4 separate regions of the Homo sapiens genome follow, and all the other regions are linked to region 1. The links are contacts of gene promoters, found by promoter capture Hi-C in blood cells and fetal thymus (Javierre and others, 2016). All regions are on one chromosome and are shown on one strand. Each heading gives the region's core, a stretch centred on a gene start or on the middle of the fragment in contact. The rest is flanking DNA. Distances are from core to core; before and after follow the strand shown.

What was found. The method cuts DNA at HindIII sites, captures the fragments that hold promoters and counts their contacts. A CHiCAGO score of 5 or more calls a contact.
Region 2: a contact is called between a fragment that was not itself captured here and the fragment with the promoter of SHCBP1L in region 1, in 1 of 17 cell types (endothelial precursors). The highest score is 5.7, in endothelial precursors.
Region 3: a fragment that was not itself captured here is called in contact with the fragment with the promoter of SHCBP1L in region 1 in 1 of 17 cell types (M1 macrophages); the score reaches 5.5 in M1 macrophages.
Region 4: a contact is called between a fragment that was not itself captured here and the fragment with the promoter of SHCBP1L in region 1, in 3 of 17 cell types (megakaryocytes, M1 macrophages and endothelial precursors). The highest score is 5.2, in megakaryocytes.

What each region holds. Positions count from the first base shown.
Region 1 is chr1:182,948,576-182,956,575 of GRCh38, reverse strand. It overlaps SHCBP1L (SHC binding and spindle associated 1 like), which reads left to right and starts at 3,410. Exons shown (of 10, transcript NM_030933.4): 1 at 3,410-3,847; 2 at 5,109-5,258. The coding sequence starts at 3,443. It also overlaps the pseudogene LOC100271717. The HindIII fragment of the contact is 6,039 bases long and covers 1-5,228 here.
Region 2 is chr1:183,593,461-183,601,460 of GRCh38, reverse strand. It overlaps a transcript of NCF2 not described here. Among named protein-coding and RNA genes, the nearest start is that of NCF2, 7.0 kb to the right of the region's middle. RefSeq lists enhancers at 1,572-2,071, 7,593-7,652. The HindIII fragment of the contact is 2,564 bases long and covers 3,253-5,816 here.
Region 3 is chr1:183,522,815-183,530,814 of GRCh38, reverse strand. It overlaps SMG7 (SMG7 nonsense mediated mRNA decay factor), which reads right to left. Exons shown (of 23, transcript NM_001375584.1): 5 at 4,048-4,219; 6 at 2,788-2,859; 7 at 1,773-1,923; 8 at 1,282-1,417. Among named protein-coding and RNA genes, the nearest start is that of SMG7, 54 kb to the right of the region's middle. The HindIII fragment of the contact is 690 bases long and covers 3,081-3,770 here.
Region 4 is chr1:183,462,493-183,470,492 of GRCh38, reverse strand. SMG7-AS1 (SMG7 antisense RNA 1) reads left to right here. Exons shown (of 5, transcript NR_040063.1): 2 at 1-28; 3 at 694-819. It overlaps LOC105371646 (a long non-coding RNA gene), which reads right to left. Exons shown (of 4, transcript XR_922351.2): 4 at 7,610-8,000. Among named protein-coding and RNA genes, the nearest start is that of SMG7-AS1, 5.5 kb to the left of the region's middle. RefSeq lists a silencer at 129-318. The HindIII fragment of the contact is 3,386 bases long and covers 1,202-4,587 here.

The DNA of each region.
Region 1 (8,000 bases), core at 2,161-4,660:
TTTTAGTAATAGCCATTCTGACTGGTGTGAGATGGTAATGGTATCTCATTGTGAAATTCCCTATATTTTTATATGATTCTCAGGGGGTATCATGGGTCTGAATACTGACTCATGCCCTGGGCATGACTTCCACATTGCAGAATTGAGAAGTTGACCCAGAAATGCATTTCAGGCTGAGCAGACAATTATCAGAGGAGCTGGCTAGACCACAGCTGTGGTCAGATGTGTCATAGGGACCATGGCCTTTCTGTAGACTCATGGTCAGAGGTGGAGAGGAGCTGTGAACCTTCTTGTGAAAAAAGTCAAGGTGAAAGCTGCCCCGTGGTGATGGGCGCTGGGCCTCACCTACCACATACTGTGCATCTCCTGGCCTGCTGGGCTCAGTCCCCACCCCACTGCTTGGCACTCGACTGGCAGAATCTGAGTGATGCCTTCTGCACTCCCTGCCCTGCTCTGCCACTGGCTGTGTCTGAGCCAGAGGATCAGTGCTCAGCAGCAGACTCTCCCAAAACCCATCATCTGGGCTGAACCCAGTTCATGAATCCAAATGAAAAGCCGGTGACCATCTGTCACTGGGGAGATTCTGAGGCTGTTGAATACCAGCTGTACTTTGAAGGAAGCCTTTCTGCCATGGAGAGACCAAAACCCCCTGAATGGATTAACAAAGTTGAATTCCACATCCTACTCATGACCTTCCGCACAGCAGGGCTATACAGCTGCTTCTATCTGGCTGGGGAGCTCTGGTCGGAGCCCAGTGACTCTGGATCTGGTGGTAACAGGAGGGAAGATCCAGCCGCACACAGTGCAGATATGGGAATGTCCAGGCGGAGTTCCCCATTGGTCCTGTGACCACAACCCACAGAGGGACATACCGATGTTTTGGCTCCTATAACAACCATGTGTGGTCTTTCCCCAGTGAACTGGCAAAGCTCCTGATCATAGGTGACATTGAGAACACCAGCAGACCCCACCTCTTCTGGCTCTTGGGACACCTACCTTTTAACCAGAGACGGGACTCCAGAAAGACTGTGCCCTCTGAGACCACACTGCCCAGAATCTCCTTCAGATGGGCCTAGCTTTCCTTGTCCTGGTGACTCTGGTGTGATTCCTAGTTGAAGACTGGCTCAGCAGGAAGAGGACTAGAGGGCGAGCCAACAGAGCTTCCACTTGGGATTGCGGCAGAAGGTTGAGAACACAAAGACCCCTTGAAGAATGACCAAGAAACGCAGTGGCCATGGGTGGAACTGAAAGCCGATCTTGAGCCTGGGCATTGGGAGCTCTGTGTTGGGAGAAGGGAGTCATTGTAGGAAAAAGGGACAGTGGTATTCCATTTGTCAAAGCATCCTGGAGGAGACAGGAGGTGGGAGAAACAAGCTAAATTTCTTTGGGAGGCAAAAAAAAAGAAAAAAGTTGTTTTAAAAACTCAGCTTAAGTATCCCTTCTTTGGAGAAGAAAGGTCCTTTTCTCCTACAATGTGGAATATATGTGTATATATATACACACACACACACACACACACACGCATATATATACACACATAAATAAATACAAATTATTTGTGTGTATATAAATATATATATGTATGTATTTATGTGTATTTACATAAATAAAAGCATGGTCCTTACCAAACACAATCATCTACTGACCCATCTGTATCTTTCACTAGGATTACGAGGGCAGGGATTTGGTCTTTTACCTCTATAACTGTGGCATCTACGCATTGTGTGGCATGTAACAGATTTCTAACAAGTATTTGCCTTTTGGAGGAAAAGGGAGCTGTTGCTGTTTTTAAACTTTGGCCCAGGACAGGTGGTCTTTATTATTCAGAACCTAAGAATTAAAAAACCCATAATTTATCAAAAACAAACTTTTGAAGAAACACTAGAGTAAAACATTTGTGTGTGTGTGTGTGAGTGAAATATGCAGTTAGTATTGTTATAAACAAAGTCCAGGACTCAACGAAAGGAATAAAGTAAGAATAGAATTGAAACATGATGCATGTTGTAATTATTCCCTAAACTACAGTAACATGATGTTAATTTTTTTTTTTTTTTTTTTTTTGAGACGGAGTCCCGCTCTTTAGCCTAGGCCGGATTGCAGTGGCGCAATCTCGGCTCACTGCAAGCTCCGCCTCCCAGGTTCACGCCATTCTCCTGCCTCAGCCTCCCGAGTAGCTGGGACTACAGGCGCCCGCCACTGCGCCCGGCTAATTTTTTGTATTTTTAGTAGAGACGGGGTTTCACCGTGTTAGCCAAGATGGTCTCGATCTCCTGACCTTGTGATCCGCCCGCCTCGGCCTCCCAAAGCGCTGGGATTACAGGCGTGAGCCACCGCGCCCAGCCACATGATGTTAATATTTTCCTCAAAATAAACTCAGAATTTAACATAGTGTTCTTCCAGACGAGTGTGAAGGAAGGCAGGTGTTTTCCCAATGCTGTTCTCCTTGGGAGCTGTCAGCTTCAGTGCAGTATTTCACAGCTAGACTGTGAACAAACGTTAATTCCAATTGGCTCAATATACATTCAACAGTAAAATACCAGAAGTGAGTGGTCTCTGTTGTTCTCCAAAATGTATGATCTGGAACAGACTTTTATCGTGAAAGTGTTCATAGTTTGCACACATCACTCCCAGCTGGAAGTTGTTGTCCAGTTTAACAGTTATATAATATAATCTTTTATGTGAGAATTTTGAATAGCACAACAGAGACAAGAAAACAGACTAACTTCTCCTTGGTATGACCACATCTTGGCAAAAAGTGAAAGTCCTATTTAAAATGTAAAGGAAATCCTATTTGGTGAACCCTGTAATAGGTGGGGGCTAAAAGGGAAATCTAGGTTGCTGGATTTGTCACTAGGGTTTCCTCTAGTAATAGCCAGAGGGTTCCAGTTAGTGTCACCTCCCAGTATGAAAATAAATTTTCTTTCAGGCTTTGTTTGTGGAGTGGTAGGTGGAGCATTTTTTTAGGTCCTGATGACCTGGAAGGTGACTCATAATCACCCTGAAACGTATGAGGACCCTAAGGAAACCTCCCCTGGGGGAGACAGAGGGCTGGGGTTAGAGCCATTGCGTTGGGCTCGTCTGGCACCTTCTGGTGTGTGCGGCACCTGGTGGGGGTTCGGCACGGAGCCGCACCCAACACTGACCCGGGCCCCCCCACCCCTGTCCTGAGCCCAGGCGCTTCGCCCTGTCCCACCTAGCTCTGAGCAGCGCCCCCCAGCACCCTGAATGCGTCCGCAGGACCCCGCGCTCTACCCGCAGGCCCCGCACCCCCTAGCTCTGGGCCGCGCCTCACATCCCTCCCAGAGCCGCAACACCCCACCCGGCGGGACGCCCTCGAGCAGCCGCTCGTTGCGGGCCTGAAGCGCAGAGCGCCTATTGGCCAGAGCGGCCGAGGGCGGGAAAAGTGGCCAACGGCTGCCTCGGCCCTCGGGCTGCTGAGGAGATGGCGTCGGGCTCCAAGGCCTCGGTGCCCGCGGACTCATTCCGCACCATCAGCCCGGACAGGCGAGGCGAGAAGTCCGCCTCCGCTGTCTCCGGGGACACGGCGGCCGCGACCACCCTGAAGGGCACCGCGATCCCAGTGCGGTCGGTGGTGGCCTCCCCTCGCCCGGTGAAGGGGAAAGCGGGCCGGGAGACGGCCAGGCTGCGGCTCCAGCGCCTGCCCGCGGCTCAGGCCGAGGACACGGGAGAGGCGGCGGCGGCGGCGGCGGAGGAGCCCCTGCTGCCAGTGCCTGAGGATGAAGAGGAGGCGCAGCCCCTGCCCCCAGTCTGCGTGTCCCGTATGAGGGGGATGTGGCGGGACGAGAAGGTGTCGCTGTATTGCGACGAAGTGCTGCAGGACTGTAAGGTGAGCGGATCCGGGACAGGAAGACTACGGTCGGAAGCTCGTCGGAACCTGGGGACAGGCATCTGGGGCTTCCCTCTTAGGCGGATGGGGATCCACAGGGCACAACGAAAACTTGCGTTTCAAAAAAGTAAATGGAGTCAACATGTATAGAGCGTTCACCTTGTTAGAGGTGCCCGCGTCCTGCCCTAGAGGAGTTAAGGTTCGAGTTTCCGACAAAATTCGTCAGGTAACGGGACAGCCCTGAGAGAGAATTTTCTGAGAGCTCCTAAAAAATGAAGATATATTGGCCTTATCATTGCACAGGCATGAATCTTGGTACCTTTATTTAACAGTTTATGTCCAAACATGAGTAAGATCACTTAGCCTTGACTTTTACACTAGAATGCTAGAAATTACTTTAAGGGTACTTCCCACTCAGCAGTCCACAATGCGGCATGATATATATGTGTGTGTATATATATATATAAATGTGTGTGTGTGTGTGTGTGTGTGTATATATATATATATATATATATATATATATATATATATATATATTTTTTTTTTTTTTTTTTTTTTTTTTTTTTTTTTTTGGAGACGGAGTTTCATTCTTGTTGCCCATGCCGGAATGCAGTGGGGCAATCTCGGCTCACACAACCTCCGCCTCCCGGTGCAAGCAATTCTCCTGCCTCAGCCTCCCGAGTAGCTGGGATTACAGGCATGAGCCACCACGCCTGGCTAATTTTGTATTTTTTTTTAGTACAGATGGGGTTTCTCCAGTTGGTCAGGCTGGACTCGAACTCCCGACCTCAGGTAATCTGCCCGCTTCGGCCTCCCAAAGTGTTGGGATTACAGGCATGAGCCACCGTGCCTGGTGGCATGACTTTCTTTTATAGAAAATACATATCTGATAAAACGGAATAGAGCAAATATTTCATGTTTCTAACCTATTTTTTTAAGTTGTAGCAGAAGAATTTGTGTACCTGCATATTCACTGCAGTGATATTTATAAAAAGTTGAAAATTAAGACATAAACAATAACTAGCTGTCTTATCTATGAATTATTCGAGTGAATAGATCTCTTTTAAGTTTAATTTTTTGTTGGTGATGTTTTCCACTAGATGCGGTTTCAGTTAAAATCTGTAATTTTCCAGGTCATTCATTATTTAAGGCTATATTGGTTCCATTTTAAAATAGAAATCAGTAAAAAAAAAAAAAACCACTTAGTTTAAAATCTATAATTTCATATATTTATATGTAGATCCATTTTTTCTCTTGTTAGGCAGAAGATGCTGATGAAGTTATGGGTAAATACCTATCAGAAAAATTAAAGTTGAAAGACAAATGGCTTGGAGTCTGGAAGACTAATCCCAGTGTATTCTTTGTGAAATATGAAGAAGCTTCTATCCCTTTTGTTGGTATATTGGTTGAGGTAAATAAATTTTATTTGATCTTTGTTCTTTTTGAATCAGTTCTTTTAAAGACTAAAATATGACTTTATTATTTGGAGATTGATACACAAGAGTTGACACATTTTTACTTCTGTTTTAAGTTTCCGAGAAAATTAATAGTGTAAAAAGAAGGTTAGGGGAATATTAGTGCCTGTAAACCATTATCATTAAATGGAATCTAGTAGTATCAGACAATATTTATTAGCCTAGTTTTTGCTCAACTAATGTAAAAATAACAAAAATGCATTTCTTATAAAATTAGTGATTCAGTCTTTAACAAACTTGGGCCTTCTTTTTCTGTCTTTTCCCTTTAATCTTCATTTATCTGAATTAAGAAGTTTAGTTCAGATGAGGAAAAAAAAAGAAATGGATCAGAAAACTACTGGGAAAATTTGAAATTTTTTTCCTTTGAAAAGTACCCTTTTTAGGGAGGCTGAGGCAGGAGAATGGTGTGAACCCAGGAGGCGGAGCTTGCAGTGAGCTGAGATCATGCCACTGCACTCCAGCCTGGGCAACAGAGTGAGACTCCGTCTCAAAAAAAAAAAGTACCCTTCTAGTATAATATCTTCCAAGCCTTTATCTGATAAGATTTTTCTTTTTTTTTTCTTTTGAAACAGAGTTTCGTCCTGTCGCCCAGGCTGGAGTGCAGTGGTGTGATCTCGGCTACTGCAACCTCTGCCTCCCCGGTTCAAGCGATTCTCCTGCCCCAGCCTCCCGAGTAGCTGGGATTACAGGCGCATGCCACCATGCCCAGCTAATTTTTTGTATCTTTGGTAGAGACGGGGTTTAACCCTGTTGGCCAGGCTGGTCTTGAACTCCTAACCTTGTGATCTTTAGCAGAGAAGGGGTTTCACCATGTTGGCCAGACTGGTCTCGAACTCCTGGCCTCGTGATCTGCCTGACTCAGCCTCCCAAAGTGCTGGGATTACAGGCATGAGTCACTGCACCCGGCCCTAATAAGATTTTTCTTTGTTAGGCCTGTAGGCTAAACATTGTGGCATGTTTGATTCTGTTAAAGGTCAATTATCCTTATATAGAAATTAATATTTATAACCACAAATGATACCCTTACCCCAGATAGTTAGTTTAAATCTGTATTTTTGGATACAAGAAAAACTTATGTATGTAACTTGTTGTATTATATACTACTTGAAAACAATTTAAAAATATGTGTTCTGTGGAAAAGTCAGTGTCAGTTTTACAGATAAAGAATGGCGGCTGGGCGTGGTGGCTCACGCCTGTAGTCCCAACACTTTGGGAGGCCAAGGTAGGTGAATCACTTGAGCTCAGGAGTTAGAGACCAGCCTGAGCACCATGGTGAAACCCCATCTCTACCAGAAAAACAGGCACACACCTGTGGTCCCAGCTACTCAGGAGGCTGAGGTGGGAGGATCGCTTGAGCCTGGGAGGCAGAGGTTGCAGTGAGCCTGGGTGACATAGTGAGGCCCCATCTCAAAAAAAAAAAAAAAAAGAATACCATATTTTCAGTCACAGAGATTACAAAGGAATGTAAAAGATTATTGGGATTAGTTAATTTTTCAATAAGACTCTATTAGTTAATATTTCAGTAATACTGTTTCTTTTCCTTTTTCTTTTTTTTTCAAGATAAGGTCTAACTCTGTTGCCCAGGCTGGAGTGCAGTGGTGCAATCTCAGCTCACTGCAACCTCTTCCTCTAGGTTTCAAGCAGTCCTCCCACCTCAGCCTCCTGAGTAGCTGTGACTGCAGGCGTGTACCACCACACCCGGCTAATTTTTGTGTTTTTAGTAAAAACGGGATTTCACTATGTTGGCCAGGCTGGTCTCGAACCCCCGACCTCAAGTGATCCACCCACCTCAGTCTCCCAAAGTGCTGGGATTACAGGCAGAGCCACCATGCCCAGCCAGTAGTACTCTGTTTTGTAGAGGTTTGCTCATCTTCAGACTTTGAGTAGCTTTGCCGAGATCTTTCACAACTTCTCTGGATTTTTTTCATCTGGATAAAAATGGTTTTCATCTGGCTTTATGACTTTTTTTTTTTTAGTATAAGTTTGTGGGTTTTTTTTCAATCAGGTTTTATGTGGAAGCTTAACATTAAAGCAGAACATTTCTGATTGAAATGGATGATGGTGTCTTAGCAGCTCTCTCCATACCTCATGATAGCCCCTATACTCCATAAAACTTTTCAAGATCTCTAAAGTTCCATGGAAACTCAGTGGATTAGGTAACCTTAAAGTTCTATCAATTTCTAAGGTTTTACCTGCAATACATTGATTATTTAATCTGTCCCTGCCTTGCTTTAGAATTTGTGAGGGTCTAGTAATGTCCTCTAAATGTTAGAAAGACAGGATGAAGCATAAGAACAGAGGAAAAAGCAAAACAGTATATTGGCAGATTCTAATTCTTTTGTGGCAGAAAAACAAGTGAGAATGGCTCTTGGGACCTCTTAAGATAGTGCTGCACAATTCATATTGTTGTTTTATCTGACTCTGCTTCTTTAGTCTTACTTCAGTTGAAGTATTAATAATGCTATATAATACTCTTTGTTCTGATGTCACAATAATTTATTCCTATGGGCCCCTGATCGCTTTTTCTTTAGATGCTGTATTAGTTTTCTATTGCTGCCACAACAAATTACCACACTCAGTGGCTCAAAGAATACAAATTTATTATCTTACAACTCTGTAGGTCAGAAGTCTGACATGGGCCTAACTGAGCTAAAATCAAGGTGTATGCAAGGCTGCAT
Region 2 (8,000 bases), core at 3,285-5,784, 640 kb before region 1:
GACTCAGATATTCTAATTCTATAAGTTTATCCTATAAATATGTTTACAGACGTGTGAAATGATGTATATACAAGAACATTCCTCACAATATGATGATAGTATACAATTGGAGACACTGTATTGGAATTGGAAAATGGGGCACTCATTATACGACAGAAAATTACACAGCCATAAACAAAGAATGAGGAAGCTTTCTATGTACTGATAAGAGACTGTTGTTAAAGAGTGAGAAGCAGAACTTTACCTCTAATGATATGTGCGTAGAAGAGGAGGGGACAGAGGGTCTGCATTTGCATATGCTTAAAATCTTCTCTGAGGGAAGAATACCAAGAAACTAATAAAAGTGGTTTCTGATGGGCAGGAAGAGTTTGACACTGAGAGGAGGAAAATTTTTTGTATTTGTTAATTTTTGAACCATGTGAATATATTCTTTTTCCAAAAAAATTAAGGAACTAAAGTAAAACAATAAATATTATGATAAAAATGTGTGTCCATGTAGTGCCTCAAATGATCTCGCAAGCTCTTGATGGTATATATCCCTGCATGGGGAACCACAGCTCTGATGCGGTCAGTGGGATGATGGCCCTGGTGTGTGCTGTCAACCTCTCAAGTAGGTGAAAGTCCTGGACAAGCTAAGCCCAACCCTAGTGCTGAGAAGGAAGTGAAGGAACCCATCATTCTGGGAGGCTCTTCTGTCAGATGATCTGCTGATGAAGGCCATGTTGCTGACTGTCCTGAAACCCAGAAAAGAGTCTAAGCCCCAGAGTGAAGAGCCTGTGTCTCTTGGTGGAGAATGTGCAAGCCATGTCTGCGTTGGTAGTTGAACTGTGACCAGATGAAAAAAAAAAGACTGAAATAAAGACTTTCTAGACAATGTCTTCTAATCTGAGCCAAGAGTTCTGGGGAAATGGATGGGAACACTGGTCAGTTCAGAACGAGAGCCCTGGATGACAGATAATAGTTGCTATGAACAGAAGACAATCTTTGAGAGCTTGTTTTGAATTGGGGAATGGTGCCAGTTTCCTGCTCTGGCCAATAGAGAGATTACCCATGTCTCTGGCTAGGGCAGGTTGTTGAGTCAAGAACCATCTGACACAAGAGTTGGGTGCACTTCTGTTAATGCAGCCTAAGATTGCATTAGCTGTTTTGGCAACCACATGATTTTGTTGACTCATACTGAGCTTGCAGTCAATCCAAATGGCTAGGCCTTCTTCTGATGGACTGCTTTTAAGAATTGTCAAGAATTGTCATCTTCCGATGTTTGGGCAGTTGGGTTTTTAAACTTAGGAGCCGATCTTTACATTTGTCTTTATCAAACTCCATTTGGAGCTTTTGTGAATCTATATGAGTCAAGAAATATTTTAATTCTGATGTACATGTTGATACTCTCTCTCCAAACTTTGAGCTATTTGTGAATCTGATTCAAGGTGTTTATAGAAAGGTTAAAAGCACAAGGTGACATTAATATGTTAAGAAGATTCAGTGAACATAATATTTAGCCAAGTAAATTGTCTAAGGAATATCTTGGCCAAATATCTTACTGATATTGGTAGATGGCACCTTCCCAATTCACCTACCAGGAAAATCCTCTCAAAAAAAGAAAAAGAGGGCAGGGTACGGTGGCTCACACCTGTAATCCCAGCATTTTGGGAGGCTGAGGTGGGCGTTTCACCTGAGGTCAGGAGTTTGAGACCAGCCTGGCCAACATGGAGAAGCCCTGTCTCTACTAAAAATACAAAAAATTAGCCAGGCGTGGTGGTGCTCGCCTGTAATCCCAGCTACTTGGGAGGCTGAGGCAGGAGAATTGCTTGAACCCGGGAGGTGGAGGTTGCAGTGAGCAGAGATAGTGCCACTGCATTCCAGCCTGGGTGACACAGCGAGACTCCATCTCAAAAGAAAGAAAGAAAGAAAGAAGGAAAGAAAGAAAGAAAGAGAGAGAAAGAAGGAAGGAAGGAAGAAAAGAGAAAGAAAGAAAAGAGAAAGAAAGAAAGAAAGAAAGAAAGAAAGAAAGAAAGAAAGAAAGAAAGAAAGAAAGAAGGAAAGAAAGAAAGAAAGAAAAAGAGGTTTGGTTTTGTTTTGTTTTTAGAGACAAGGTCTCTGTCTACAGGCTGGAGTACAGAGGTGCAATCATAGTTCACTGCAGCCTCAAACTCCTGGGCTCAAGCAATCCTCCTGCCTCAAACTCCTGATTAGATAGGACTACAGGTGCTCACCTTGACACCCAGCTAATTTTTTTTTCTAGTAGAGATGGGATCTTGCTATGTTTCCCAGGGTGGTCTCAAACTCCTGACTTCAAGTAAATCCTCCCACTTCAGTCTCCTAAAGTGCTGGGATTACAGGCATGAGCCGCTGTACCTGGTCAAGAGTTTGTTTTGACCTGACTTATTTTGAGTAAACTCATGCTAGTTCCTAAATGTAATAGCTTCCTTTTGGTTTGTAAGTGCCTTTGTTTAATAATCTGTATTTTATAATTATTTCTAGGGCTCAGCCCATAAGTCTTTGATACCACTTCTAGAATTCACAGCTTTTAGAAGACTGGACTCATACTTGCCCATACATCCTGGCTTCCTGAATCTCAATGCTGATAAGATTTTAGGGATCACACTTACAAATTCTATCGATTCCTGGTTTTTAACGAGTCTACATTTGATAAAATGAATTTCTTTAAAGCAGCTAGCAACTTTCTCACCATCCTCTATCTGGGTCTTCAATTATCTGTATAGCTGGAAGCAAAATAGGAGCTGAGCAGTTTTGCTTTCACTCTGACATCTGTGAAAATGACACCATCTCCACCAAGCCATGACTCTCCCTCTCCCTGCTCTTCTTTCTCTGATACTAAAAAGACCTTTGTGCTGTCCTTAGTAATTTTTTTTTTTTTATGCAGCCTCAGCTCACTCTGGGCTTTGTCTTTCCTTATACTCTGCCTTTGATCTCTGCCAAGCATTTGGATTTCTCCTTGGTCAGAAGCCATGGCTTCCATCATCTGTGCATGTCTGGCCTCCTCAGAGCGTTCTCTGGGGAGTCTCATTGCCTCCCCACTTCCCTCATCTCCGTATTCCTGAGTAACACATGGTTATGTTTGTTTCTGAGAATCTCCTGTCTCTCTTTAGCAATTGATTATTTTAGAGTCTTGGGCCTGGGGCTTACATCTATTTTTCACTTTGTATTAGTCAAGTCTATTTTTTGGCATACAACAAAACTAATTACAGCAAACTTAAGCAAACACTGAAATTTATTGCAAGGGTCTAAGCTTGGGGCAGGAATTTGGATGGGGCTCAGGAAAGGCTGGAACCGGAGACTGAAAAGTTTCTGTGTCTCTTGTCTCTGCTCCTCGCTGGGCATCTGTTCCATTCTCTCTGAGTAGTCTGGCTTCCTCTGCTTTCCGGGGCCTCAGGGCACAGCATGATAGAACTGCAGCTCCTAGGTTTATACACCTCTCAGTCCTAAATCCTGAATCACAGGAGACATAACCTAATGAGGCCAGCTTGTCAGATGCCCACCAGGGTCCAACCAGCCAGGACTCAGGCAGTACAAATGTGGCCACAGGGCCTACCATCCTTCTATGGATTACACAGGCAGGTCCCAGAGAAGAGACAGGCATATACCCTAACAGATGTCCACTCTTCACTTGTTCATTCATTCAGTGATTCAGCAAATAGTTATTGTATGTCCAGACACGGTCGTTAGGGACACTACAGGGAAAGCAAAAGGGAATCTTTAAAAATTTTGTTTTGCAGAAAATCTAATCTTGCATGTTCTCACTTATAAGTGGTAGCTAAACATTGAGTATACATGAACACAAAGATGGGAACAATAGACACTGGGGACTCCAAAAGTGGGAAAGGAGACGGGTGGGCAAGAGTTGAAAAACCACCTATCGGGTACTATGTTCACTATTTGGGTGACAGGATCAATAGAAGTCCAGACCTCAGCATCCTGCAATATACCACGTGACAAACCTACACATGTACCTCCTGAATCTAAATTTTTTTAAAAAATTCTGTTCTGCTAAATAGGGGGTAGATTTCTAACTCTTCTGTGCCCCCTCCGCTTTTTTGTACAATGACGTGATCAGTTTCTACTCCTTCAACATCAGTAACTGTCTTGTTAGAGCATCATTTCCCCTTAGATACTCACTGGCTTGGGAAACACACACAAAAACTATCCTGAGACAGGAATCTTCCTAAAGAAAAAGACCCACGGAGTTTTGAACACATGTAAAAGAGATCCCTGGCTCTATGACTAGATTGCATTTAGTGAATGGGTACTCTAGACGAAAAATGCAGGACTGAAAAGGCCAACTGCATCCAAAAAGGGAAAGTTCCTAAGATATGCAGGACTAGAATCATGCCACATCAACCATATTTCTTTTTTACTTTTCAGATCAGCACATATTTATTAAGACTTTGATATAAGATGTTAGGTGCCAGTTCTGTGGAAAATGTAAAGAAATAGAAAGCCTGTTCCCTGCCCTCAAAGAACCTATTTATAGCTAGCTGGATAGATAAGGTAGAAAACAGATAATGTGATAGAGTGCTTGTGTTTTGGGGTTTGATCATAAAATGCTATAGGAATTCAGAGAAAAAAATTACTGAGACTAACTTACATCAGGGAAGACTTTACGTAGGATGTGAGTCTAAGCTGAGCTTTTACAGATGGACAGATGGACAGGATTTGGATCTGCAGAGAAATGTCAAAGGGCAATTTTTTTTTTTTTTTAAGATGGAGTCTCGCTCTGTAGCCCAGGCTGGAGTGCAGTGATGCAATGTCGGCTCACTGCAACTTCTGCCTGCCAGGTCCAAGAGAGTCTCCTACCTCAGCCTCCTGAGTACTATTTTTAGTACTATTTTTAGTAGAGACAGGGTTTCACCATGTTGGTCAGGCTGGTCTCCAACTCCTCACCTCGTGATCCGCCCACCTTGGCCTCTCAAAGTGCTGGGATTATAGGTGTGAGCCACTGTGCCTGGCCCAAAGGACAATTTATAGTGAGGATCCAGTGTATTTACTTGCTTCATTCAGGATTCAGATCTTTAATCTCTATGCATTCATTCATTTATTCATCAAACTTTTACTGAGTGACCACCTATGCAGGTACTAGACATTGTGTGTGTAAAGGGTACAAATATGAAAAAGAGTGCTTAATATGAGGTGTCTTTAAATGAATAGGCATTATACATTCCCTCATTTTCATCTAGGATGCTAGGACACATATATTTAGCCAAGCAAATTAAGTAATCACACTGACTTTAAAAGCACCTTCCATGGCATCGCTATTTAACAGATATGTTAAAAATCCACCATATCATGGGCACAAAAGATACAGTGGAAAAATCAGACACAGATCTTGTATTTTCGGGGCTTACAGTCTAGTTGAGAGACAGTCGTTTAAACAAGTAATTACAATCACATGTGCTTGAACACACATTAGGAGAGGTAGAGAGAAACCTCCTTGAGTGCACATGGCAGGAATAATTAATCTCACTGGTAAGTCAGGGAAGAAGACTGGAGCTGCTGAGGTGTGGCAGGTGGAATTCTAAGATGATCCCTGATGATCCTTGCCTTTGTGTAATCCCCTCCCCTTGAGTGGGAGAGACCTGTAACTTGCTTTTAATCAATAGAACATGGCAAAGGTGAAGGGATTTTTGCAGAGATGATTAACATCCCTAAGCAGTTGGCTTTAAATTAATCAAAAGGGAGAATATTCTGGGTGGGCCTGGCCTAATCAGGTGACTCCTTTAAGAGAAGGTCTAGAGGTAAGAGACTTAATGAAGCAGAGATTCTCTCTGCCTCCATTGCTGGCCTTGAAGAAGGAAGCTTTCATGAATTCTATAGCTACAGATGAATTCCACCAACAAACCAAGGGAGCTTGGCAGCAGATGCCGTCAAGTCTCCAGATGAGAAAGCAGCCTAGATAACACCTCGATCTCAGCCTTGTGAGACCCTGAGCACAGGGCCCAACTAAGCCGTGCCCAGACTCCTGACCCATGAAAACTGTGACATAGTACATGTGTGTTATTTTAAGCCATTAAGTTTGTGGTAATTTGTCATGCAGCAACGGAAAACCAACCCAACGACAGATTAGACAGGACTAACTTGCCTTCCTGGAGAAAGACGATTTCAAGCCCTGAGGCTTTCAATAGCATTGCTGAACAACAGGACCCCTGTTGACTTTTCTGTATCCTTCATGTGAGATCCAGGCCAAGTTTATATCTAATAAATGAGGTCTCCTCCCTGCCTCCTTCAGGGTTTCCTGTCTTGTACTCAATGAAACTATCTACTCAATGTTAGAGTTGACGGCAAAAAAGTGCGTTCTTTTCCCTACTAGTCTAAATGTACCTCACTTTATGCAACTAACATGATACTGACAAACTTTACAAAATTATATTTTTCCAAGTAGGATTCAGTTTTCTCATTTTTCAGTTCATTTAATTAATTAGCCAATGATCACGGAGCAGCTACTACGTGCTAAACATGGCGAAAGACTGAAGGACAGTGGAGAGTTGGCTCTATCCTTTGAGGAGCTTAAGAAAGAAGTCTCATGTACCAGAAAAAGTTAAAGAGCGATAGAACACTAAAATCTAAATGTAGGAATGAAAAAGTATTTCCTGAGTGCCCAGGAATAATGAGTTTTATTTTGATTTTACAGGCTTCTTCCTCAGAAAAAAAAAGGAGGGTCTTGGGAGTGTTCTTGGCTTCCAGCTGAATAAATACATGCAACAGTAGTTTGTAGTGTTAACCAATCATATGCAAATCTTGCTTATTTGGAATTTTGGAATAATTTTGAAAATATCGAGATGAAACTGAGTTACCCAACCAATGCCTCAACAAATTTTATTTAACAAGTAATGTTTATTGAACACCTGCTATATGCCAAGCCCTGTACTAGGTACCGAGAATCCAGTGGTGTGTGTGTCAGAACATTTTAAACCATAACTAATAGAAAACTTGATATGAATGACTTAAACAATAAACAAACTTATTATCTAACCAAACAAGAAATTCCAAGGTAGATCAGTTTCAGACTTGTAGAAAACGTTATTTTTATCTTTTAAGAGATGGAGTCTTGCTCAGTCACCTAGGCTGGAATGCAGTGGCGTGATCATCACTCACTGCAGCCTTTGAAGTCCTGAGCTCAAATGATCCTCCCACCTTAGCCTCCTGAGAAGCTGGGGCTACAGGCATGTGCCACCATGCCTGGCTAATTTTTAGTGTTTTTCTGTAGAGATGGGGTCTGGCTTCATTGCCCAGGCTGGTCTCTAACTCCTGACCTCAAGGGATCTTCCCACCTAAGTGTTGGGATTACAGATGTGAGCCATTGTGCCCAGCCAGATTTGCAGAAAACAGATAATGCAACACATCTCATCAGCATAACTAAGCATCTGAGCTCTTTGTAATTTTCCATTCTCTTTTCTTTCAGACAATGGCTTGTTCTTAGTTGTCTCCCCTCATGATTATAAGACAGCTGCCATATTCCAGACACATCTCACAATGCTGTCTAGTAGAGAAACAAGTGCTGTTTCTTCTCATGTGTTTTATTTTTTATCACTGGGGAAGAAATCTTTCCCAGAAATTCTTAGCAGACTTTCCCTCCTGAAGCGCATGGCTTCAGGAAACTGGAGGCTTGAACAGAACTGGGGTTCTACCAAAAGGAGGAAGGCGAATGGACAGTGGCTGAACAGACCGTCTACTAACAGCACCAAGTAATGATTAAATAGACTGCCCCTGCATTGAGGGACAGAAACAATGTCACAGATGACATACAGTTACAAACTGTAACAAATACATGATCAGAGAGAACCGTGCACATAGCAAGGTCATGGATCTAGAAAGGCCACTCATTGAGGAAGTGAAAGATGAGTAGGAACTAGCCAGGCAGGCTTGGGGGAAGAGTGTTACATGGGCGGAGGAAGAGGCTGGCTCATATGAAACCATGAAAGGAGGCCTGTGTAGCTGGAGTTCTTGGGAGAGGAGGAGGGGAAATGACCTGGAATGAGCACAGG
Region 3 (8,000 bases), core at 2,176-4,675, 570 kb before region 1:
TCAAGAAGTTTTCTAGTCCAATCCCCTATTTAGTAGGACTGCACTTAAATAATCCAAGAAAGATGGCTGTCAATCTGACTGTTAAGCTCTCCAAAATGGAGAATCCACAACATCCCACGGTCAGCCCCCTATAGATTTCAACTTAAAATTTAAGATTTTAGTTTTGACTTCAGGAAAGATACAGGTATGTTCTTTTCAAATAATCCTTCACATGTCTGAATACTTACTATGAAAACTATTTAGACTTGTTTGTTCTTTTCCAGGCTGAACAGCCTAGGACATGACAAAGTTAGCTGTTCCTTTCACACACCCAACCTTATACATCATATGTCACAGGCTAAGTATATTTTAAAACAAAACAAACTATTGCTATTTATAATTATCTATTCTAATATCTTGCACATAGAAAGTATCAACCAAAAAGCGATTACCTGTAAAAACTATTTCGCATTGACTATTTTTGGCTAAGTGACACCTTAACTGTCCAAGTTCTACAATCTCTTAAAATGCCTGACTTATAAAGAACTTACAGAAATACTATGAAGCAGTTATACACAATTACCCAAGTATATAGATACCTAGAAATAACCAAGAAATATAAAATGTTCTTTGAAATTGTCATTTACTGTTTAACACAGTGCCTAAAACAATGACCGATGAGTAGTCAAATATTTATTTGAATACATGAACTGAAAAAAAGTTAATACTTTTGACTTTCTCCTTATTTTATGCATTATACATTTAAACTGCTAATATCTTAACATACTAATAAAAGATCATTTTCACATATATAAATAGAATGAAGGTTAATGTTATCTCTTCAAATTAGTAAAATATATCCCTGTTAAATGAAACTCTCATTCCTTTCATTCAAACTACCACAATCCTGATGAATGCAAGCACAATAAAAATAATGAACTTGGTTTGGAGAATGCCAATATCTATAAAGCAGGTAACATAATCATATCTAAGAATACACAAACCATCAAAAGTAGTAGTAGTTTCAAAACTGAGGAGTTATTTATTTTTTTCCACTTTGATAATTTTTGTCAAATGGCAACTACTCAAGTGAAAACACTGCTATATTATATTTGTTTATACAGACTGTACCTCAGTTTAAATTGAAGGGATGATAAATGCAAAGATTTCACATACTTCGAATATAATTTTTACCAATAGTTCACACAGTTAAGTAACTACAAAAACTGGGAGTCAGTTTCCTCCAAATGTTATGCTTCCTGATTTAGACAAGACAAAAATTCTCTATTTCTGAAATCTAACCTTAAACTGTTCTTCCAATTTCTCTCGAAGAGGGCTCAACTTTTCCAAGCTCTTACTCAGGTACACATGACCGTGGAATTTAATAAAGGCCTTGATGAAGTCAGAAACACCCCACTTGGTTTTCACCTCATCTCGGCTGAAATGAAAGAAAAAAATTCCATGAATCATAAGCAGCAAATTGGCTACAACTGTTTAAGGAGGCACTGGCTTGCTAAATACTTGATACACAAAAGAGCTGTATTTGACTGATTTTTCAACTGCAACACACTCAAGATGAGTCAGTATTAACAGCCTGTGTACTCTTTTACTGGGACTGAATCAGATATTGATTGGATGAAATTCAGTGACTATACACAAATTATGAAAAATCTATATGTTTAGAAATAAGAGAAGCATAGGCCGTTATTTTCTGTAAACCAAATTATGAGGAATTAAGGCTCCAGGTTACAAAGTCCTCTTGGAAAGAGAAAAAAAAAACCAAACAACCCTACCTTTCCAGTGCTTTAGAAAGTGCTTTTTGCAGATTAGTGGAGGCAGCTGGGAAAGGGAACTTCACAGCAATGCTTCTGCAGTAGTAGAAAATTGTGGTCAGATGGTCTCCTTTGGAAGAAGCTAAGATAGCCAACTGATTATAAGGCTGACCTACAGGAGAAAGTTAAGATTCTGGAGTAACCCCAAGAGTGACAAAGTCTTGCTATAAGAATACAAATGATCAGTGTTTAAATACTCAAACAATGGGGAGTATTTTTATAAGGTAAATATGACTGCCTCATTGCAAACCAGCGTAAGGTCCAACAGCACACTTCAGCGACAGTACACACTATCATATACAGGTTAAACAGTCAATATTAGGGTAGAGAGCGGCTTCAGCAAGGGCTAGATTATAAATAATTTCAGTTTTGTAGGCCAAAGGGTCTCTATCACAACCACTCAACTCTGCCACTGTAGTGTGAAAGCAGCCATAAACAAATATGAAACAAGTAGTGTGGTCAGACTATCATCCCTGCTTTAGACTCTTTCTAGAATCTAAAGGAATTTCAACGTCTTAGTAAGAATGATTTAAATAATTAAATATCTGCTGTAATTTCTGTAACTCAAGAACTACTGCTAATGCCTAGTTTGGGGCCATTAAAAGATTATCTTTTAGGTAATAGATTGTTTTTCTGGGGGGAGGGGAATGGTGGTATCTAAAGAAATAATTATTCTATAAGCAATTAAGGAAGCCAGAGTTGTAGAAACAATATCAGATTACATTAAGAGATTCTATCTATATTGCTTTACTGACAATAATAAATAATAAAATAAAATAAATAATAAAAGTCATCTTACTTGTAAAAAAAATTCATTTTAGTTTACATGGAATGTACAGTTAAATGGAAAAACATGACAATAACAAAACTCATTTATTGCTTTCATAAAACTTCAAAGGTGAGCCCTGAGTTATCTGCCACATTGTTATAAAGAACAAAGTGTCACGGTCAATCTCAGGTTGACAGGTCCACTCACCATTGGAGGGGACAAGCTGAGCTGCATGCCTATAGTAGGACTCTGCCTGGCTGGTCTGGTTTCTGTATCGAGCTAAGAAGAAGAAAATTAGTTTTAAAAAACCCAAAAAACAAACAGTAGGGTAGTATTTCCAAAACAGCTATAGTTTTAAGTTCTAAAGATAATAAAGACATTAAAGTTAATTTAAAATTAAAGACAAAATACTTTAAAACAAATTAACTATAGGATTATGTGTGAAGTGTCCATCAGCCTTCCTTATTTGGGACATTCAGCATGTAACCAATTTTAAAGCTTACCTAGACCCCATTTTCAGGTCCTCCAGTGTCATGCATCACCAGCTCCCACTATGGACTATGCTGGTGACCTGGAGCCGGCCCACAAGAAGGGGTGAGTTATATGGCACTTAAAAACAAAACAAAACAAAATACACTATACAATATGATCTGAAAATTATGTATTTTTCAATATTTTATAAAGTGATTTTGAAAAATGTCTCATTCCTATTGCAATATTAAATATGTGTGTGCAAAGATTATATTTAAAGCAAAACAACCTAAACACAGTATCAATGAATCTCCCTGCCAAACTCACTGCTTACTCTGATGTGACCTCCTCATGGAACCGCTGACTTACAATATTAAGAAATCTAAAATTTCAAACTTAAAAGCAGTAATGTTCTCCATTCTTTGTTATTTGAGGACAAGCAAAACATAATCCTATAGTTAATTTGTTTTACAACCTTTCTAGGTCACCTTAAAGGAATGAACAAGAATAAATAAGTTATATAATATTCCCAGATAAAATGCAAATAATAGAAATACAAATTAAACTTTAAAAAGGAAGCAAAATTAAAAATCAACTTTTAGTCCATTGGTAAGAAAGAAAGAAGGCAATTTCGCTTCAGGAGTAATTTATAAACCTCATTTATTCCAGAAGAGTACATTTAATTTAGAAATTATGGCACCACTTTGAAAAATTAAGCTTTGATTATGTTTTTGCTGTTTATTATTTGCCTATATAAATTACATAAAGTTGGAATAAAATTTAAATCTTAATATGAAAGTTACTTTCTTCACGATGCTCTGCCAATCCCAAAAATATTGAGAAATTTTAAGTTCCTTAGAATACATTTTATAGTTTCTTCTTATGACAATCTAAATTGTGTGTGTATGCTCCGCTTAAAGGAAAACAGTTTCTTTCTATGACTATTCCAAAGAAAAGGAGGAACATATTATCAATTCCTTCACAGCAAAGGCTCACCAATGTCTCCAAGGTGGACGAGGCAGTGCTGGCAGATATAGGAACAGGAGCTAGACTGTGGCTTCACTATGGCGCTGGTATGCGTCTGTTTATTGCTGATAATTCCCAATTGGGAAGACTTCACACGGCATGGTAAATCTACATTAAATACTGTACACAGTTCTTGTAATAACTAAAAGAAAAACAAACAAAATTTAGTAGTAAGTCACAAGTGCTCTAAAAGTAAAGTTTATAAACTGTAAGATGTGTACCTAGTACCACATACTGCTGAAATCTGAACAAAAACTGCATGAAAATTATATGGTAATCTTTCGGGCCTGGCACAGGGGCTCACGCCTATAATCCCAGCACTTTAGGAGGCCAAGGCGGGCGGATCACTTGAGCTCAGGAGTTTGAGACCAGCCTGGCCAACATGATGAAACCCCGTCTCTACTAAAAATACAAAAAAAAAATCAGCCGGGAGTGGTGGTGAGCACCTGTAGTCTCAGCTACAAGGGAGGCTGAGGCACAAGAATCGCTTGAACCCAGGAGGCGGAGGTTGCAGTGAGCCGAGATCACGCCACTGCACTCCAGCCTGGGTGAGAGAGCAAGACTGTCTCCAAAAAAAAAAATATATATATATATATATATTATACGTTAATCTTTCACAGGATAACTAGTATCATTCATTATAAATCATACCTTTTGAATTCTCAAGTATTACAGCAATCTAGGATGTGCATACAGCAGCATTTTAAAAAAAGATTATTTAACTGGATAGGATTTTCAGACACGATTTTCAGACACATTAAGCAAGCAAAGAAAGCTACTACTCTCAGAAACCCAAAAATTATTAAATATTGGTTACAAATTTGACTTAAATGTAAGCCAAGGTATTTGTCAGACTTTAGGTATTTCTTGCAATTTATTTTCTTAAGCTGTATGCCAATTCACATGTCTTTGCATATACAACGAATCTCACCGTAGTGTACACCTTTACTGTATCACCCATTCCTACCTCCTCTCTTCTCTGTTCTTAAAGTATGAGGGGCTCTTCTTCCTAGTCAGAGCTAACTCTTCTGCCTATGTGTGCCTATTGCTACATTCTTTTCTGGTTCCTGTCTGTCTCCCACCTCTCCATTCTTTCATCTACTGTCAACTTTTCATGCTTCTTTCCTATGGCCTACACACCACGTCTCCCACAGAAAAAAACAAGAACAAAAAACAAAACAGAGCTAAAACACTCTCCTCTTGACTTTATAGCAACCTTTTAATGTCTCTCCTTCTTCTCAACCAAATGCCTTCAAAGGAGTCCACACTTTTCATATCTGCTTTCTCAATTTCTATTTACTCCTTAATCCATTATCATCTGGCTTCCACACAACCCCTCTCCCTCCTCTCACCCAACCATCCATTACCACTCTACTGAAACTACTATCAGACAATTGGTTACCTAATAGCCAAATACAACGGATATTTTTCAGACATCATCTTATTGGACCTCTTTGCTGCACTTAAAACATCTGATCTTATGGTTGATTACTGAGCTGTTCTAGTTCTCTGTCATCTCTCCAATCACTCCTTTTCAGTCTCCTTCATAGAAAGGCTTTTCTCCTCTCACTTTGCTTGCCAAGGGCTTATTTCTTGCCCCGCACACAGTTCTTCACACTGTGAAGAATATTTACTTCACAGTTATTCAAATATTTACTTACAAATATCGTCATTCAAATATTATTATATTCATCCAAGTATGTGCTAGTATATCAGACACCCAGTAAACAAGAAAGATACAAAGACAAGTAAGAAAATATGTTTCCTTCATGAGCTTGTAGCTAAATGGGCAAGTCAGGTACAAAAAGAGAAGTAGAGGGGAGAGAGGGAGGGAGAGGGAAAAGGGAAAGGAGAGAAGGACAGACAACATGACACACAATATAACCAACAGAATATTCTACATTTATAACGTAACTTATTTCCCTAGGTTATCTGATAAATTTGTCTCACTTTATCCTTGTGATAAACTAGTAGCAACACAGTATACATAGATATAAAGCTCAATTTTTTTCAGATGAGGATGTGAAGGCAGAAATAATCAAGCGACTGGACTAAGGTTATAGAATTAGAAATATTTTGATTCTATCACCACTCTTTCTAGCATGTACAGAATTCAAAATACAAAATAAGACACCCTAAGGGCTCAACTCAGAAGGATCTGAATCATGCCACCTTTTTCCTAAGATAAAAATCACCTCCATAACTAAATATAAATTCTGCGCACCCTTTCTCACTGGGCATGGAAATTATTTACTCCATCTTTACTTGTACATTTGTAATGGGCAAGAAATTCACTAACATAAAATTGGGTAAACAAGGCCAGGCATGGTAGCTCATGCCTGTAATCCCAACACTTTGGGAGGTCAAGGCGGAAGGATCACTTGAGGTCAGGAGTTCAAGACCAGCCTGGACAGCAAAGCAAGAATCTGTCTCTACAAAATAAACAAATGAATGAATATAAAAATGAAAATAAAGTGAAACAAAAAATTAGCCACGTGTGGTGGCATGCAGTGCTATAGTCCCCGTACTTTGGAAGGGTGAGGCGGGAGGCTCACTTAAGCCCCAGAGTTCCAGGCCGCAGTGAGCTATGATATACACTGCACTCCAGCCTGGGTGACAGAGAGAGACCCCGTCTTAAAAAATGAATAAATAAAATAAAATAAAATGAATACATAAAAAAACAGGGTAAATAAGTTAATGTCCTGAACGGGATGGGTTAAGAAATAGAAAAAGCACAAGGCACAGGGCAGGAACAAAAAAAATATATATATGTAAATATATATATACCTACATATATATTATGAAAAAAACAAAAAACAAAAGTGGATAACTAAGAAACATGAGAGGGTTAAAGAACTGACTTCAATAGGTAATGAAAAAACAGACTGGAAAACTAGGCAAGGCTGCACATCTAGCAAAAACAAAAAAGAAAGATCACAAAAAATAAATAAAATTATGGTTGGAACATCATGTAGAATGTCTTGTAATAAAATTTCTGCCTGAGCCCAAGAGTTTAAGTGGTGATATCAGACAGAAAAGCTCCTACTGGCTCAAAGATTCTGAGAAAGAGAGCTCTAGTTGGTTTAGAGGCAGTAACAAGATGGAACTAAAGAAGAGAAAAGGATGTTTCATAAATTGAACAAAACAATGTCCTACCTTCATATAGGTTGACCCTGATGTACATTACTTTGTAGTAGTTTCCTCAGTCTGATAAGAACTTAGTTACTTCATTATACAGAAGTATTGACTGGGAGATATTCCTAAGGCTGTAGCTGAATATTAATGCCTCTAGTTCTTCCCAAATTATAATCATGGAACTATAAAACTGGAAAATGAACCTATAAGCATTTGTCAACTCTCTTTTTTACAATCAGAAAGCTAAGCACCACAGAGGTAGTGACTTGTCCAAATAGTCACAATTAGCCCTAGAGCAGTACTAGAACAGTTTCTGGGTTCCTATTTATCAATTTTTACACTATCTCTTGTCTCCTCAGCTCTTTATTCCATGCCAAGAATGAAAGATTGATTATGAAGGTATAGAATATTACCTTTTAAACTAATACAGAAACTCAGTGATTATACTTTCTTTTTGGTTCCTATTTTCTTAGAATAAAGGCTACCGTTCTGTTCTTTGATGTTTAAAAACAACCTACAGCAGAATGGTATGTCTTTACTTTGACCAGGAATTTGGTTCTGCTTTAAGCCCCATGCTTTAACTGGTTAACAAAATGGTAGCTAAGAAGTTAAAACTAAACCAGCCTGGGTAACATAGTGAGACTCCATTCTACAAAAAATAAAAAAAGGTAGCTGGTATGAGCCTGTAGTCCTAGGTATTTGGGAGGCTGAGGTGGGGAAGGATCACTTGAGCCAAGGAGTCTGAGGCTTCAGTGAGCTATGATTAAGCACCGTACTCAGCCAAAATG
Region 4 (8,000 bases), core at 1,645-4,144, 510 kb before region 1:
CTATACCAATGTTCAGTTGAAACATCAGGTATAAGTTTAGCGGAAACGAAAGTACAACCTGCTTTGAAATAAATTCCAAGGACAGATTGTCATTAACGAAATAGAAAGTGGACTATGCCCCTCATGCTGCCAGCGCCTGGTATGGTGCGGCGTGACACGCAGCGCTTGCGGCAGTACAATGCCCCCAATCACCCGCCCCGCCCCGACGCGCCGCCCACTCACGGCAAAGAGAGCCACCTAGTGAGGGATTATTCTCATTTCCGCGGTGGGGTTCTGCTTTTCTTTCTACCATGAGCGCCCAAGGATAGACACTCCTACTACCTATTACCTCAAATAGCCTACATTTCTTTCCGAAAATTTATTGGTTAGATATTTTTCTTTTTTTTTTTTAATTTAAAGACCAGTGTGATCGTGTATTGGTTAGATTTTTTAATTGGTTAGATTTCAACCAGAATAAAAATTGTAATAATTACCCCCTTACTAATCATGGTAATAGCCATTTATGTCTGTGGCACATATCTCCAATAAAGAGTGTATGAACAGTTATCATACATTCCTGATAAGCAATCTAGGAAAATATTACTACTATCTTCTCATTTTGGAAATAGAGAAACGGATCAGAAAGATGAATCCTTTTGTTAGTGTTTGCTGATTTATTCCATAAACATTTACTGAGTACTTATTATATTTCAGACACTGTTCTGGTTATGATGGACACCACAGTGAAAGAGACCTGGTCCCTGCCTTGAGGAAACCCAACTGCTGGTAGAGAGCTCAGAGTAATGATTAGGATGCAATATGAGGGATGCAGTAATTGGGGTAAGAACAAAGTAGGAACACATGAGGTCAGAAATAATAAAGTCTGTGTTTTATAGCAGCTTTCCTAAGAATCTTATAAGAGTCTTCAATAGCTTTACAATATCTCTAGCTAAATAGAAGAATAGTAGTATATTTTAGAGATTAGAAGACTTTGATACTAATATTAAAATTACCTTCAAAAATCAATAGGACTCAGAAAAATTATTACCTTCTATTTATATACTGTTTAATACACATTTTCCATTTTCATCTATTTCCACTTGTCCTAGTCAACAAACTTGTAGAATTACAAACATCTTTCTTTTTGCAATAGATATTGTTCACCTTTTCCCCCCTACAGATATAAGATCACATCTAAACCAAAAGAAATTAAAGAGAAGCTTCCTTACTTACATTAATCCTACCAGATTTTGTTTTTGGGTTTGTCTTTTTGGCTAAGTGATTTCATGGAAAGATCACAAGCTAACGGACCTGAGTATGCATTCTAACTCTGCCATCTTGGTGTCTGAACTTCAGTTTGCTCCTTGACCAAAATGGAAGCATTACCTGTTATAGGCTTCCTGTGACCTTTAATGATGACATACATGATTGAGTGCCCATTATACAACACTGAACTTGATAAACATTAAATTTTTTTCTGCCTTTTTGCTTTTTTTTTTTTTTTTTTTGAGACAGAGACTTACTCTGTCACCCAGGCTGGAGTGCAGTGGCACAATTTCAGCTCACTGCAACCTCTGCCTCCTGGGTTCAGGCAATTCTTGTGCTTCAGCCTCCCAAGTAGCTGGGACTACAGGTGTGTGCCACCACGCCCAGCTAATTTTTGTATTTTCAGTAGAGACAAGGTTCACCATGTTGGCCAGGCTGGTCTCAAACTCCTGACCTCAAGTGATCCACCTGCCTTGGCATCTCAAAGTTCTGGGATTACAGGTGTGAGCCACCTTGCCCAGTCCCTTTTGCTCTTTTATATCAAGCTAAAAAGAGTAAAATAGAACTACTACAGCATAACATTATTTTTTAAAATAATACTCTATCTAGTCTTTTTTTTTTTTAAATAGAGATGCAGCCTAACTGTATTGCCCAGGCTATCTATCTCTAACTCCTAGCCACAAGCAGTCCTCCCGCCTCAGCCTCACAAGTAGCTGGGATTTTAGGTGTGAATCACTGTACCCAGCTCTCAATCTAGTCTTTGTCTATAATACTCATAGGTCTGAACTCACATTCAAATCTATTGGCATCCAGTGCTAGAAGATAGATTTCTTTATTCATGACTGATTACAGAAAAGAACACAATATTAGGACATTGTGAGTCCAATGCTAGAGATTTAAAACTTTTCAAAAACCTTTTATCACATAAAACAGGCTAATATAACCACATTTCTGTCCAAGTAGATGGAATGGCCTCTTTTCAATCAAACACAGTACTTGCTGAGAAGCTACTCTTAACATTCTTACCAAATTTACCCAGAGCTTTGGTAACCTGACGATTAATACATAGCAGGCCTCCTCCCTTTTTATAATAATAGACAGCCTGTGCCATGACATCGTAACAAGCCCTAATTTATTTTAATATTTATCCTATATATTCTGAATGTTTATAAATCCTGTGCACAATTAGGAACTTGGTAAATCATTCTCATCAAAGCAGAAACACATTTATTATCAGTTGCATACTCAGTACACAATATGTGTGAAGCTAGCCATTCATTCCTCTTCAGTACCACACCTCAGACCATAGAGTTAAGTGATTCAATCAAATGAGTAATTCATTCTCTTCAAATAGTGAGTCAGATACAAATTGACATTTAAATTCAGGTCTCCTGTTGCTCAAGATTTCTTAGATCAAGGGTCAGTAGCCTTTTTCAAACAGTTTGCCAAGTGTATATTTATTCATTCACTCCAAAGAGGGAGTCTTTTAGCCTGAAGAATAGTCGGGAATCATTGCAGTCCAAGATTGAAGAAAAGAAACTTCTGATTTGGGAGGCACTGAGGTGACAGTTGGGGAATAATATTCAGAGCTTTCTCTCCCCCTTCACTTCTCCATTCTCCTAATATTTACTAAGGGAAATCTTACTATCTTCAAGGTTTCCCCCAACTCCCAATAAGCAAATACCTCTGAGAAATTACCACACCTAAAATTCTTATCTGCTGATTTAATGGACACAATCTGGAGAAGACAAGAAGAGATGCTCATAGGAAAGATTGAAAAGTATTGAAAAACAAAAACAAAAACCGTAGCCTCTCTTATTTTATTGGCAGAAGGCCTTAGTGTTCATGCATCTCTTTACTACCCGAAGCACAGTACTTACTGAAATCATCTTGTGGGTCCCTAATCTAACAGCAACATATTTCATGTCAAAGTCTGTTCAGTTACCTAGAAGTTGCCATATTTTTCTTAAAACACCCAACTAAAATAACATAATCTTTTAATATTTTCTAGTTTCTACTTTCCTAACTTTTATCAGGTAGATAGTAATTTGGAGCACTAAGAATGTGATACTGATATTCATTGTCATAAATCTGTTCTTCAAAACCATGGGAAACATGTACATGCATGTACACATGCACACACTGATATGGTTTGGCCCTATGTCCCTGCCCAAATCTGATCTCTATTTATAATCCCCACATGTTGACGGAGGGACCTGTAATCCCCACGTGTCCAGGGAGGGAGGTGATTGGATCATGGGGGTGGTTTCCCCCATGCTGTTCTCATGAGTGAGTGAGTTCTCACAAGATCTTATGTTTTTGTAAGTGTTTGGAACTTCCTCCTTTGTTTGTCTCTCCCTGCTGCCTTGTAAAGAAGGTCCATTTTTCCCCTTCCACCATGATTGTAAGTTTCCTGAGGCCTCCCCAACTATATGGAACTGTGAGTCAATTAAACCCCCTTTGCTTATAAATTACCCAGTCTCGGGTAGTATCTTTATAGCAGTGTGAAAACGAAATAACACACACCTTCCTCTTTTCCCTGACATTATTATTGTACCAATTCAATTGGCAATTCAAGTTAAAATGTGATAAAGATGAAAAGCAAAGAAACTTAGGACTTAGGTCCATCACTTCAAGGCATACTAAGAATATGCATCCAAGCACTTTTTTGCTTTGCTTAACAATCCCAGGGTCTTTTCTATTCTCAGAAAACTTTTACATATCAAAAACCTGGATAGTTTGTTCCATATATGTAAAAGTTCTTTCTTTTCTTTTTCTTTTTCTTTCTTTCTTTCTTTTTTTTTTTTTTTTTTTTTGAGACAGGGTCTTGCTCTGTTGCCCAGGCTGGAGTATAGTGGCATGATCACAGCTCACTGCAGCCTCAACCCCCGGGCTCAAGTAATTCCCCTGCCTCAGCCTCTCGAGTAGCTAGGACTACAGGCTTCCCTCACGATGCCCAGCTAATTTTTTTATTTTTTGTAGAAACAGCAGTCTCCCTATGTTGCCCAGGCTGGTCTCAAACTCCTGGGCTCAAGAACCTCCAGCCTTGGCTTCCCAAAGTAATGGGATTACAGGTGAGCCACCTCACCTGGTCATATTTGTTAAAATTCTTAATATTAGCCTGGCACAGTGGCAGGTGCCTATAATCTCAGCTACTCAGGAGGCTGAGCCAGGTGGATCACTTGAGCCAAGGAGTTTGGGGCCAGCCTGGGCAACATAGCAAGGCTCCATCTTAAAAACAATTCTTAATATTGTTGGGTTAAGATGTAAGAACACATTCTGGAACAAATTAAATAGTAAATTAATGTGTACGTATATTCCACATTTTAGCTATGTTAAGCTTTTTAAAAAGTTTTTTCCCCTGGCTTTAAGTCTCCATTGCTTTTCCATTACCCTTAGGATAAAGTTTCCAATCCTTATGATGACCTCTGTTCTGGTCTCTGCCTGCCTCTTCTCTGACAACCCTCCCCACCCCCTGGTATCACCACTCTAGCTATAGTGACCTTCTGCTAGGTCCTTGAATAAGCAGTGTTCTTTTCTTCTCGGAGCCTTTAGATAAGTTGTTCCCTCTATCTGGGTAATTCTTCTCCGCAGACTACTCTTATGTCTACCTATGCTTTAAGCCTAAATCTGAACTTCTTTGGACGAGCTTTCTCTACTTTCCAACCCCCAACCATTAGGCTAAGTTAGCTAAACTGGTTATATGTTCCCATAGCACTCTGCCCTTCTTTTTCATGGCATTTGTAAGTCTTTCATATTTGTAAATCTTTGTTTAATGTCTGTTACCTCCAATTGTAAGCTCTGTAAGAGTAGATGCTGTGCCTATTTTGCTTACTCTTGTATTATCACTTCCCTAGCAGAACACCAGATACAAGGAATGCTCAATAAATGTTCATTAAGTCAAGGAATTAAAAAACAAAAACCAAATTAATAGAAATTTGGGAGCTGGGCACAATGGCTCACACCTGTAATCTCAGCACTTTGGGAGGCCAAGGTGGAAGATTGCTTCAGCCCAGGAATTCGAGACCAGCCTGGGCAACATAGTGAGACCCCATCTCTAAAACAAAAAAAAAATTGGACCACGTATTCTTTAGAAGTAATCCTAAAGCAGTAAGAAAATAATTTTATTGGGCCTTCAACTAATCTCGGTAATTGAAATTGCTATTACATTTAACAAGATTAAAGTTGTAATTAAATGAAATATTTAAGCAATGAGTAAAATGCACAGTTATAAGATGAAGGATAACTCATCAGTTATCTCACAACAGCATCTCAGACTTTGATGTAGAAAAAGTCTTCAACGTCCAAATTATTTTTATTTAACTTTATGTTTTTAAATTTGAGATTAGGTGCAGTTAATTCTTTCATTATGTGGCAGGAGAGGGTGCTAGGGAAGGATGGCAAAAGAGAAGAGAGGCTATCAGCTAATTAGAATGTAATACAAAAAGTTACCTTTAAAATTTCGGAAAGAAAATTGGATCAGGGTGTAGAATGGAAAGCTCAGTGGTCTCTATTTTTCACCAGAGAAGTGTTTATAAATTCTAGCATTATTATTGTTAATTTTTTTGCCTGTAATGGGATAGGGCTAAGTAAACTGAATGTAGGATTTTAAGGAAAGGGCTATATCCAATTTCAAAGTAAATGTGATAATTATGTTTCTGGAGGCAGGTTCTGAATTCAATTCAATTAAATAAGGCATGTAACATATGTAAGCAGCCTGGCACTTAGTAGACACTCAACGAATGCTCTTACTTTATATAAAGGGTGAATAAGAACTGCATACACACTCTAATTAATGTAGGTTAAATGCACCTTTAAAAACAAATACAAACTGCTGTAGAGGTACACAGCATACTGCCTCAAAACTATATGACCAGTTTTATCATATGACCCTTCCTTCCTTCCTTCCTTCTTCTCTTTCTTTCTTTCTCTGTCTTTTCTTTCTTGCCCTGCCCTGCCCTCTCCTCCCCTCCCCTTCCCTCCCTTCCCCTTCCCTCTTCCCTCCCCTCCCCTCTCTTTTCTTTTCTTTACTTTTTTTCACTTTTCTTCCTCTCCTCTCTCCTCTCCTCTCCTTTCCTTTCTTTTTGACAGGGTCTCACTCTGTTGCCCAGGCAGGAGTGCAGTGGTGCAATCACGGCTCACTACAGCCTCAACCTCCTGGGCTCAAGTGATTCTCCCACCTCAAGCTCCCAAGTAGCTGGACTACAGGCATGTACCAGCATGCCCAGCTAAATTTTCTTTATTTTTGAGGTCTCACTGTGTCTGCCAGGCTGGTCATGAACTCCTGACCTCAAGTGATAAGTGATCCTCCCACCTCAGCCTCCCAGTGTGCTGGGGTTACAGGTGTGAGCCACCATGCCTGGCCAGTATAAATTCTTTAATCTATTTGTGAAGGATATCTCAGTTCATTAGCTGTTTTGTATTTGAATGAAATGAGAGCCAAGATCTGGTTCAAAGCTAAAGAGGATAAGGAGGCTTCTACGGAGCAAAACCAGCTGTTTATGCTTTCCCCTGCCCTCTTTCAAACTAACACCTCTGGAATGGCTTTGACTTGCATGCTGTTTCACTCTCGTGCTCTCTCAACCATTGGCTATAATGTTCCCATTATGGTCCTCCAAGTCATCCATTTCTTTGTCCAAGAGGACATGAATAGTTTTAATTTTTGTTGTTGTTGTTGTTGTTGTTTTGTTGTTGTTTTGAGACAGGGTCTCTCACTATCACCCAGGCTGTAGCGTAGTGGCATAATCACAGCTCACTGCAGCCTCAACCTGCCAGGCTCAAGCCATTCTCCCACCTCAACCTCCTGAGTACCTGGGGCTACAGGCACATGTCACCACGCCTGGCTAATTTTTGTATTTTTAGTAGAGATGGAGTTTCTTCATGTTTCTCAGGCTGGTTTTGAACTCCTGGGCTCAAGCAATCCACCTGCCTTAACCTCCCAAAGTGCTGGGATTACAGGCATGAGTCAATGCACCCCACCAGTTTTAGTTCTTTAACAATGTTCCTGTGGGTAAGACCAGGACTAGAGGGCATGCCAAATAACTGGAATGCCAACATTTCCAAAATACAGGCAGCAGTGGCCTAGATGTTACAGAAGGTTACCAGCTGTAGAAAGAAGCTGAAATTAATTTTCTCTAAGTATTTGAGGAACAGTCAAATTTCAGCATGAAAGCACTGTAGGAATGTTAGGTAGAATTGAGTTTAGTATCTATAGAGCATGTTCAATTGATGATGATCAATTCCCATCTTTCTCTGCTTTTTCAAGACAAATCTATATCGAAACTAAAATTTTACTTCTGGGAATCTTAATCTTGGTGTATCCTGCTACTATGGAGAAGTTTGATGAGCTGTGGATCCTCTAGAATTTTAGTATTTAGTAATTTATTCAGTCTTTCAGTCTTTTCATAAATAGAATTTTCATTGTATCAGGTCATATGCTAGTCATTAGGGTGAAAATGGTGAACAAACAGTCCTGCTCTCAGAGCTTAAGTTTAAAAGACAGTTAAGTAAAAGGGAAGTTATATTATAGAGTGACAAATGCCGTGGTAGAGGTCTTTGGAACCATTCCACTTGAGATCGAGTACAGGCATGCAATCAGATAATCCACGTAAGTGTCCCAGTCAACTGTAAAGTCCTTCAGAATGAGATTTTGCATAGTTTACTTGTTCACATTCTATTTCCCAGCAGGAAAAGGAATACATACAGCTCATCTACCAGAAAAGTGATGGAAAACCATGGCTAAAAGTATACTAAAT